Linked DNA regions of Homo sapiens: region 1 is linked to region 2. The links are contacts of gene promoters, found by promoter capture Hi-C in blood cells and fetal thymus (Javierre and others, 2016). All regions are on one chromosome and are shown on one strand. Each heading gives the region's core, a stretch centred on a gene start or on the middle of the fragment in contact. The rest is flanking DNA. Distances are from core to core; before and after follow the strand shown. Region 1 has its middle 7.9 kb from the start of SNAR-C1. Region 2 holds the start of PLA2G4C (phospholipase A2 group IVC).

Evidence for each region. The method cuts DNA at HindIII sites, captures the fragments that hold promoters and counts their contacts. A CHiCAGO score of 5 or more calls a contact.
Region 1: a fragment that was not itself captured here is called in contact with the fragment with the promoter of PLA2G4C in region 2 in 12 of 17 cell types (megakaryocytes, M1 macrophages, M0 macrophages and 9 more); the score reaches 10.3 in megakaryocytes.

What each region holds. Positions count from the first base shown.
Region 1 is chr19:47,961,081-47,966,181 of GRCh38, reverse strand. No RefSeq gene overlaps it. Among named protein-coding and RNA genes, the nearest start is that of SNAR-C1, 7.9 kb to the right of the region's middle. The HindIII fragment of the contact is 5,095 bases long and covers 682-5,101 here.
Region 2 is chr19:48,109,242-48,114,874 of GRCh38, reverse strand. PLA2G4C (phospholipase A2 group IVC) reads left to right here and starts at 4,058. Exons shown (of 17, transcript NM_003706.3): 1 at 4,058-4,388. RefSeq lists an enhancer at 4,083-4,242. The HindIII fragment of the contact is 20,185 bases long and covers 1-4,229 here.

The sequences.
Region 1 (5,101 bases), core at 1,980-4,479, 150 kb after region 2:
CCAGGCTAGAGTGCTGTGGCGTGATCTCGGCTCACTGCAACCTCCGCCTCCTGGGTTCAAGCGATTGTTCTGCCTCAGCCTCCCAAGTAGCTAGGACTATAGGCACATGCCACCACGCCCAGCTAATTTTTGTATTTTCAGTAAAGATGGGGATTTGGCCAGGCTGGTCTCGAACTCCTGACCTCAAGTGATCCACCCTCCCTCGGCCTCCCAAAGTGCTGGGATTACAGGCGTGAGCCACCACGCCTGGCCTTTCTTGAGTATTCTTTGAGCAACAGGACAAAGGATATGTTTGCTATCCAGGCTGCATCATTGATGAAGGGCAAGTTTCTTGATCTCTCTTAAGACTCAGTTTCCTCATCTGTAAAGTGGAGATAGAAGTCTCATAGGTCTTTGTGAATCTAAAATAAGCTGATGCAGTCAATTCTTGCTGTATGTGGTAAATGTGTTCTAGAAAGTAGCCATGTACACTGAATTAGTGAATACCGAGCTGGTGCTTTTAGGGGAAATAGAAGGTTAGTTTCTTGAGAGCCTCTGGTCACAATGTTTTTGTTAACTGACTAATACATAACCTTCTTTTATATGTGTTTCTGTTTAAAGATGTTTCATTTAATACATAATGTCGATTCATTAGCACTGAACTCAAGACCAACAGGGCTGAATGCAGGTCTGAATGAAGCTTCTCTAATACACATATTTTCTCCATAAGGTGCGCCATAACCCCTTGCTTTTAGGACTACACTTGGGAGTCATTTAAACAGTGACATCGCCAAGAAAAAATACAAAAATGGGAAAAACATGAGACTAAATAGATCACAAGGACACTTGTTTATTTTTTGTTTTGTTTGTGTGTGTGTGTGTGTGTTTTGTTTGTTGGTTGGTTGGTTGGTTGGTTTTGAGACAGAGTTTCACTCTTGTTGCCCAGGCTGGAGTGCAATGGCGAGATATCAGCTCACTGCAACCTCCGCCTCCCGGGTTCAAGCAATTCTGCTGCCTCAGCCTTCCAAATAGCTGGGACTACAGGCATGCACCACTACACTCAGCTAATTTTGTATTTTTTAGTAGAGACGAGGTTTCCCCATGTTGGTCAGGCTGGTCTCGAACTCCCGACCTCAGGTGATCCGCCCGTGTCGGCATCCCAAAGTGCTGGGATCACAGTTGTGAACCACCACGCCCAGCCTGAAGGACCCTTGTATACACTGAAAGCCGAAACAAGAAGGTGGAGCATCACCTTGTTCAACCTCAGCAGGGCATGAGGGCATTGAACAACTCCAGTTCTTCCCTGCTGTTCACGTGTTCATGAATGGCCAAGAAAACAGTGAGTATATGCCTGGGCACAGCAGCTAATGCCTGTAATCCCAGCACTTTGGGAAGCTGAGGCAGGTGGATCGCCTGAGGTCAGCAGTTCGAGACCAGCCTGGCCAACATGGCGAAACCCTGTCTCTACTAAAAATACAAAAATTAGCTGGGTGTGGTGGTGCCTGCCTGTAATCCCAGCTACTCAGGAGGCTGAGGCAGGAGAATCACTTGAACCCGGGAGGTGGAGGTTGCAGTGAGCTGAGATTGCACCACTGCACTCCAGCCTGGGAGACAGAGTGAAACTCCGTCTCAAAAATACATTAATTAATTAACTAATTTAAAAAAAAAAAAACCAGAGACTCCAGGGGTAAGAGGAGGCCAGAGAACGGGACCCTTGCTCAGCCTGCAGGATCAGGGATCACTTCTAGGAAGGGACAAGGGACAACAACCAGGCTGGGTCCCGATAGTTTAATGACAATTAGGCAGGTGCAGAGGTGAAGGGGGATGGCAATGTCCAGAGGCCCTGTGACCACACACACACACACACACAAACACACACACACACACACACACACACACACAAACGCCCACCCTCCACTCTTAAACCTATCCATGCTTATGTTAGAAAACACTTAGGGCCAGGCACGGTGGTCCAAGCCTGTAATCCCAACACTGGGAGGCCAAGGCGGGTGGATCACCTGAGGTCAGGAGTTTGAGACCAGCCCGGCCAGCATGGTGAAACCCCATCTCTACTAACAATACAAAAATTAGCCAGGTGTGGTGGCAGGCGCCTGTAATCCCAGCTACTCAGGAGGCTGAGGCAGGAGGATCGCTTGAATCCGGGAGGCTGAGGCTGCAGCGAGCCGAGATAGCAACACTGCACTCCAGCCTGGGCGACAGAGTGAGACTCCATCAAAAAAAGAAAGAAAAGAAAAGAAAAGAAAAGAAAAGAAAAGAAAAGAAAAGAAAAGAAAAGAAAAGAAAAGAAAGACACACACTTAGGCCAGCTCTTTTCAAATGGTGAGTCATAATCTTCCATTTATCAAAGCACAACCAGCATTGTTTAAATTAAAAATACTGCAAACGTGGATGGAAAAACACAGAGTGTTTCATGTGTATGGCATGAGTTATTTCTAAAAAGGTTTAGAGATTGTATAGATAGATAGGGATGCCTAAATAGAAAGATATAGATGATGGATAGATAGAAGTCAGCTCATATTTTAAAGTCTATTCTTTCTATAGATTATGGTTAAAAAAACGGAAACATTGTCTTTGTGAACCCATAAATCTCATCTTAATCTTTCACAAAGCATAGGAAATCTTTTGTAAAGAATATGGCTGACTTGCTTTTCCGCTCTAGGAATGCTAGCAGAAAGCCATGCTTTTTGAAGTGAGCTTCAGGGTTCCAGTGGAGACAGGCAGAGCCTGGTGTGATTGAGCCCAGGTGGTGGCAATTAATCCCTAAGAAGCAAAGTGATACCAGGCAACAGGGTATAATTACTAATCAGATCATAGAGAATGGCTGGTGCAAGAGCGACATCTGGTGGTGATAATCATAGGTTTTTTTCAGAAATGAATTCAACTGACAGTTCACTTAAAGACATTCATTGTGGCCAGGTGCAGTGCTTCATGCCTGTAATCCCAGCACTTTGGGAGGCCGAGGCGGGCAGATCACGAGGTCATGAGATCGAGACCATCCTGGCCAACATGGTGAAACCCCGTCTCTACTAAAATACAAAAAATTAGCCTGGCATGGTGGCACACACCTGTAGCCCCAGCAACTTGGGAGGCTGAGGCAGGGGAATTGCTTGAACCCGGGAGGGGGCGGTTTCAGTGAGCTGAGATTGCACCACTGCACTCCAGCCTGGTGACAGAGCAAGACTCTGTCTCAAAAAAAAAAAAAAAAAAAAGACGTTCATTGCACAGAAGATCCACAGTATAACAGCCAGACTGGAACCATCGCGCTAGAGTCATGGCTTTTCTCCCAGTTCCAGGCACAAGACAGTTCACCAACTCAATGCCCCTTGAGTGAAGGCAAGGCTGGGTAACCAGGCACTGCTATAAGGCCATAGGCAGACACAGTAAGAAAATGCAAAGGGACCAGGCACGGTGGCTCACGCCTGTAATCCCAGCACTTTGGGAGGCCGAGGGGGGTGGATCCCCTGAGGTCAGGAGTTCGAGACCAGCCTGGCCAACATGGTGAAACCCCATCTCTACTAAAAATACAAAAATTAGCTGAGCATGGTGGCGCATTCCTGTAATCCCAGCTACTCGGGAGGCTGAGGCAGGAGAATCGCTTGAGCCTGGGAGGCGGAGGTTGCAGTGAACTGAGATCGCGCCATTGCACTCCAGCGTGAGAGACTAGAGCGAAACTCTAGTCTCTCAGAAAAAAAAGAAAGAAAGAAAGAAAGAAAGAAAAAAGAAAGAAAGAAAGAAAAAAGAAAGAAAGAAAGAAAGAAAGAAAGAAAGAAAGAAAGAAAGAAAGAAAGAAATTACAAAGGTAAATACATAAACTTTCCAGAGCCTACTGAATACTGGTTTTGAGCAAAGATTAGTTTTCAAGGACTAGGAATACCACTGATATCCAGTGATTAGAGTGGAAGATTATAGGAACATGAGACAGAGTCCTGAGTTAGGTTCACTTCTCTGTTAGCTCAGTGTGATACCAAATACTTTCTGCAATGATTTCCGCAGGGCCCAGGAGTAATACAGTTTGAAAAAAATATTTTCAGAAAGGCGTATGACTCACATCGGTTCCCAGACCCTTGGGCCCAGCTATTAAGATAGGGAAAAGTCACATTGCACGTCATCGTAGTTAGCCTCCTACGAGAATGGAGCGCGTGAAGAAACATTATGTTCCTTGGGAATTTCAGAGCTTGGTGGCACCAACAAAGACATGAAAGACTGTTGTCAAACTCTATTCATTTATCTAAATGGGACAGTACAAAAAAAATGCTGAGGCTTAAGCAATTACCATGATTTATTTTTATGTCATTCAAGTCAACCGACTCCTTCTGTAGCTGCTCTTCTACATTGATCTTATTCCTGGAGACTCTGGACCTGGGTAAGCACCTACTTAGAGTGTGTAGTTACATGCCCCCATTCTAAATGCAGGAGAAGCTGATAAACACAGTGTAGCCAAGCAGCCATGTCATCAGCTTTCATTGTGTTACAATGATGATGAAGCGGAGAATGGGCTTCTGTAAACTCTCCTTCATGGCTCCTAGAACATAATCCACTTCCTGGCACTGGAAGAGCATCTTGCAGTGGGGTCATTCTACAGAACTGACTTCCTCCATGAGACCTTTTTTTTTTTTTTTTGAGTCGGAGTCTTGCTCTGTCACCCAAGCTGGAGTGCGGTGGTGCAATCTCGGCTCACTGCAACCTCTGCCTCCCGGATTCAAGTGATTCCCCTGCCTCAGACTCCCAAGTACCTGGGATTACAGGCCCCCACCACCACATCCAGCTAATTTTTGTATTCTTAACAGAGACGGGGTTTCACCATGTTGGCCAGGCTGGTCTCGAACTCCTGACCTCAACTCATCCACCTGCCTTGGCCTCCCAAAGTGCTGGGGTTATAGGTGTGAGTCACTGCATCCGGCTGCATGAGACATTTAATACTTACCCGTCTTTAACACACTCATGCAAAATTTGTGCAGGATATTGCTACATGCTCAAAAGCTCTCAGTGATTCAAAGAACACAAACTTGCTTACGAATGTTAAACCACATAAAAGTTGGAAATTGAAAAAATTGTCCTTTAGAAAATTTCAATGTATTCTATTCCATTGGTCTATGTGGCT
Region 2 (5,633 bases), core at 2,809-5,308:
TTGGACAGCAGTAGTCTAAAATCTTTACATACATATATTTTTTAACTTGTTTAACCTTCCAGCCATCCCACAGGGAGGCACCATCGTGAGCCCTGTTAAGGAAGACAAATGCAGTGTCTTAAAATAACACAGATGTATTCCCTAAACAGTTTCGGAGGTCAGAAGTTCAAAATCAGTTTTACTGGGCTAACATCAAAGTGGTGGCAGGGCCGGTTCCTTCTGGGAGCTCCAGGAGAGAAACTGTGTCCTTTTTCCAGCTTCCAGAGGCCACCTGGTTCCTAGGCTCATGGCTTCTTCCTCCGTCCTCAAAGCCAGCAGCATCGCACCTGCAAATCTCTCTCCTGAGGTCATCAGGTCACGTCCTCTCCTCCATCAGATCTCTGTTTCTCTCTTCCAAGTACTCAAGTGGTTACATTTAGGGCCCCCTGGATGATCCAGGATAATCTCATTTCAGGATCCTAACTCAATCCCAAAGTCCCTTTAGTCACATAAGATCACACATTCACAGAGGCCAGGCACAGTGGCTCACGCCTTGGGGAGGACTTGGGGAGGCTGAGGTGGGAGGATCACTTGAAGCCAGGAGTTCAAGACTAGCTTGTCCAACACAGCCAGACTTCATCTCCTCTAATTTTATTAATAAAATTAATAAAAATGTAAAAGGGCCAGGCGCGGTGGCTCACGCATGTAATCCCAGCACTTTGGGAGGCTGAGGCAGGTGGATCACCTGAGGTCAGGAGTTCGAGACCAGCCTGGCCAACATGGCAAAACCCCGTCTCTACTAAAAATACAAAAATTAGCTGGGCATGGTGGCGCGTGCCTGTAATCCCAGCTACTAGTGGGGTGAGGCAGGAGGATCACTTGAATCTGGGAGACAGGTTGCAGTGACCCGAGATCGTGCCACTGCATTCCAGCCTGGGCGACAGAGCGAGACTCCATCTCAAAAAAAAAAAAAAAATAGGTCACATCAAAGGTTTCAGCGATTAAGACCTGGATATCTATGGGGGCTGTTATTATTGCAGCCACCCCACATGGGATGATATGTTAGAGGAAAACCATCGGGAAATGGTCAGACAAGGCAAGCAGGATGCCTGGAACACCCACCCAGCCCTGGGCACCACGGGGCTGGCTTGGGGAAAACGGCTGCACGCGGAGCGGGGCCCAGGCTCGGGTCTTCCAGAGCAGGAGGCCTCTAACCCCGGGGCCCAGCGTGGAACAGGAGCTTCCGGGCATGAGAGTGTCAGGGTGTCCTGATACTCCCGCAGGGGGGACACAGGGCTCCCAGCTGTCCCCTGCCCCTCACACTCTGTTTCTGCCTCTCACATCTGCCCTCCCTCCTTCCCTTCTCTCTCATCAGGTTCCTCTGCCCTTGTCTCCCACCCGCCCTCTCTCCCCTTCCTTCTCTATCTGCGAGGCTTTGCTCTCTGCCGTGCAAGTCTGTGCCAGGCTTACTTTGCTGTCTGTCACTGTGACTCAGCCTCCCTGTCTCTCTTCCTGTGTCTCCATCATGGTCTCTTGTGCACACAATCTCTTGGGCATTCTGTTTCTATTTGTTGTAGCCCAAGAAGACAACATTGCCTTCCGAGTCTCCTTGGGGCTAGCAGTGGCCCTGTAGCCCTGTGTGGGCAGACCCAGGGGACATAAGCACAGGGGCTGCTGGGGACTTCTGGAGAAACATCTTTCCTGACCAAAAAGGACAGCCCTGGTTGTGGCAGCTCCTCCCCTCCTCCTGCCTTGACTAGAGATGATGGCTGGAGCCAAGTCACCACCTTGTAATGATGAGGAAAAAGAGTAACAAACTCTCCTGACGACCCTAAACCGGCGAACCTAGGGCAGCAGCTGCCTAACTGTGGGCTTTTGTTCATGGGAGTAGGGGAAGAATAAGCCCCAGGGCGATTATGCCACTCTAAAACATGGCTTTCAGCCGGGCACAGTGGCTCATGCCTGTCATCCCAGCACTTCGGGAGGCCGAGGCGGGCAGATCACCTGAGGTCGGGAGTTCAAGACCAGCCTGACCAACATGGAGAAACCCCGTCTCCACTAAAAATACAAAATTAGCCGGGCGTAGTGGCACATGCCTGTTACTCCCAGCTACTCAGGAGGTTGAGGCAGGAGAATCGCTTGAACCCGGGAGGAGGAGGTTGCAGTGAGCCGAGATCGAGCCATTGCACTCCAGCCTGGGCAACAAGAGCAAAACTCCGTCTCAAAAAAAAAAAAAAAAAAAAAAAAGACTTGTTTCTCATAGCTAAGAGTTCCTGATACAGCTCTGCCTTAAAGAACTGGCAAATTAGTGTGCATTTGTGTTTCAATTTCAAATAAAATGTTTAAGGCAAAAAAAAAAAGTAAATGTTGTATGTCAGGGGATCCCCACATTACTGGCTTTGTGTGGAGACCATGGTTCCTTTGGGCTTGGCTCTTCCTCCCTGCACCAGTGCAGGGCCCCAGGAACACATCTGCCACACACGGCCGCCATGTCCCTCTGCTGAAGCTAGTCAGGGTCATCCTCACTCCTCAGTGACCCTCATGATGGCTCCACCAGGTAGGTACTTTTATTCTCCCCATTTAACAGGTGAGGACACTGAGGGGCACAGGGATGTAAGTTACCTTCCCTAGGTCCACTATCTAGGAAGTGGTGGGCCAGGGTTTGGTCCATGCTGTCAGCTCCTTGACCCTGCATCTATAACTACTAACTATACTGTGGAGAGCCTCATGAGCTCCTGCGAGGTGTAGAACCTTATCCCGCAGGCGGGGCAGTGGCATGGTCAGGTCTAGGAGTGAAAAGATCCTGCGATGGTTGGAGTTGCGGGCACTGAAGAGGTGAGCCTGGCGTTAGGGGGAGCAGGGGAGACCATCTTCCCCCTGGTGAAATCCTGTTCTAAAATTGGTGATACTCCTGCCTTGGCCTCCCAAAGTGCTAGGATTATGGCCTCATATCTATTTTTAAAAAATAAGAATTCAAGCTGGGTGCGGTGGCTCGCAACTGTAATCCCAGCACTTTGGGAAGCCGAGGCAGGTGGATCACTTGAGTTCAGCAGTTCGAGCCAGCCTGGCCAACATGGTGAAACCCTGTCTCTACTAAAAATACAAAAATAATTAGCCGGGCGTGGTGGCAGATGCCTATGTTCCCAGCTACTCGGGAGGCTGAGGTAGGAGAATCGCTTGAACCCAGGAGACGGAGGTTGCAGTGAGCCGAGATTGCACCACTGCACACCAGCCTGGGCGACAAAGAGTAAGACTCCATCTCAAAAAAAAAAAAAAAAAATTCAAAACCCATCGAGTTGGGATGACGCTTAGTGCTGGGCTTCAGGAAGAGTAGGCAGGAGGGTAGTATGGGAGGTTTCTAGGAGCCACTCTTGGAAGCGGTGCTCCCCACAGATGCCCGATTGCACTGACTGGAACTCGGTCACATGACCACATAACTCGCTCACATGACCACACCTAGCTGCAAAGGTGCTGGGAAATGTGGTACCCTGTTGGGAGGCCACTTCTGGGCTTCAAACCTTCACTGTGAATGGAGCTCACAGGTTTTCTAAAAATGGACATTAAATGAACCAGAGTTGGCCCTAAGGATCTGGCTCACTGCAACCTCCACCTCCCAGGATGAAGCACCTGCCTCAGCCTCCCGAGTAGTAGCTGGGATTACAGGCACACGCCACCATACCGAGCTAATTTTTGTATTTTTAGTAGAGAAGGTGTTTCACCATGTTGGCCAGGCTGGTCTCGAACTCCTGACTTCACATGATCCGCCTGCCTCAGCCTCCCAAAGTGCTAGGATTACAGGCGTAAGCCACCACGCCTGGCCTCAATATTTCTTTTTCTGGGTATTTGAGTATGATATTATATATGATGGTTATTAGACAGCCAGATGCATAGGAGGATTAGCTAATCTGTTTTGAGGAATACTTATCTCCAATATAGTTATATAACGACAACATTCTTTTTTTGAATACTGGTCTCGGGTGCCTAATGACAGAAGGGTGACATCACTAAGGAAGCCTGGAAAGTCCCAGCCCTCCACGTGATCCCACGGATGAAAATAGCTCCGGGTGAGCTCTGGAACAGCTGAAAAAGCTGGAGCAACCAAGCAGGGCCTACAAGCCGAGGAGGGCTGTTTAAAGGCGCAGGGGCCATTTTACCTCCAGGTTGGCCCTGCTCAGGACCAGGAGGAAACACCTCCAGCCCGCGACCTCCTCCCACAGGGGGAAAAGGAAAGCAGGAGGACCACAGAAGCTTTGGCACCGAGGATCCCCGCAGTCTTCACCCGCGGAGATTCCGGCTGAAGGAGCTGTCCAGCGACTACACCGCTAAGCGCAGGGAGCCCAAGCCTCCGCACCGGATTCCGGAGCACAAGCTCCACCGCGCATGCGCACACGCCCCAGACCCAGGCTCAGGCAAGCCGTGGGGGCAGGGAGGGCTGTTTCATCCCGCTGGGGCGGCCATAACCAAGTACCAGGGATTGGGTGCAATTAAATAACAGGATTTCTTTTTCTTTTTTATTTTATTTTATTTTATTTATTTATTTATTTTTTTTTGAGACAGCATCTCGCTCTGTCGCCTAGGCTGGAGTGCAGTGACGCGATCTCGGCTCACGGCAAGCTCCGCCTCCGGGGTTCAAGCGATTCTCCTGCCTCAACCTCCCGAGTAGCTGGGATTACAGGCGCACACCACCACACCCGGCTAATTTTTGTATTTTTAGTAGAGATGGGGTTTCACCATGTTGGCCAGGCTGGTCTCAAACTCCTGAACTCGTGATCCACCCCACTCGGCCTTCCAAAGTGCTGGGATTACAGGCGTGAGCCACCGCGCCCGGCTAGGAATTTATTTTCTAACACTTCTGGAAGCTAGAAGTCCAAGATCAAGGTGTTGGCAGGGTTGGTTTCTCCTGAAGCCTCTTGCAGAGGCCCTAATCTCTCCTTATAAAACCAATCAGGCTGGGCGCGGTGGCTCACGCCTGTAATCCCAGCCCTTTGGGAAGACGAGGCGGGCGGATCCTGAGGTCAGGAGATCGAGATCATCCTGGCTAACACAGTGAAACCCCGTCTCAACTAAAAATACAAAAAATTAGCTGGGCGTGGTGGCGGGCGCCTGTAGTCCCAGCTACTCCGGAGGCTGAGGCAGGAGAATGGCGTGAGCCCGGAAGGCGGAGCTTGCAGTGAGCCGAGACTGCGCCACTGCACTCCAGCCTAGGGCACAAAGCGAGACTCCATCTCAAAAAAAAATAAAATAAAATAAACCAATCAAACCAAATTCCAGGCCACCCTCAGGACCCCACTTTAACTTAGTCACCCCTTTAAGAGCCTATGTCTGGCCGAGTGCGATGACTCATGCCTATAATCCCAGCGTTTTGGGAAGCCAAGGTGGAAAGCTCTCTTGAGCCTAGGAGTTCAAGACCAGCCTGGGTGACATAACAAGACCTGATCTCTACAAAACATAAAAAATTTAGCTGGAGATGGTAGCATGTACCTGCACTTCCAGCTACTCGGGAGGCTGAGGTGAGAGGCTCGCTTGAGCCCAGGAGGCTGAGGCTGCAGTGAGCCACGATCACACCACTGCACTCCAGCCTGGGTGACAAAGCAAGACCCTGTCTCAAAAAGCAAACAACGAAAAAGAATCCTATGTCCAAATACAGTCACATT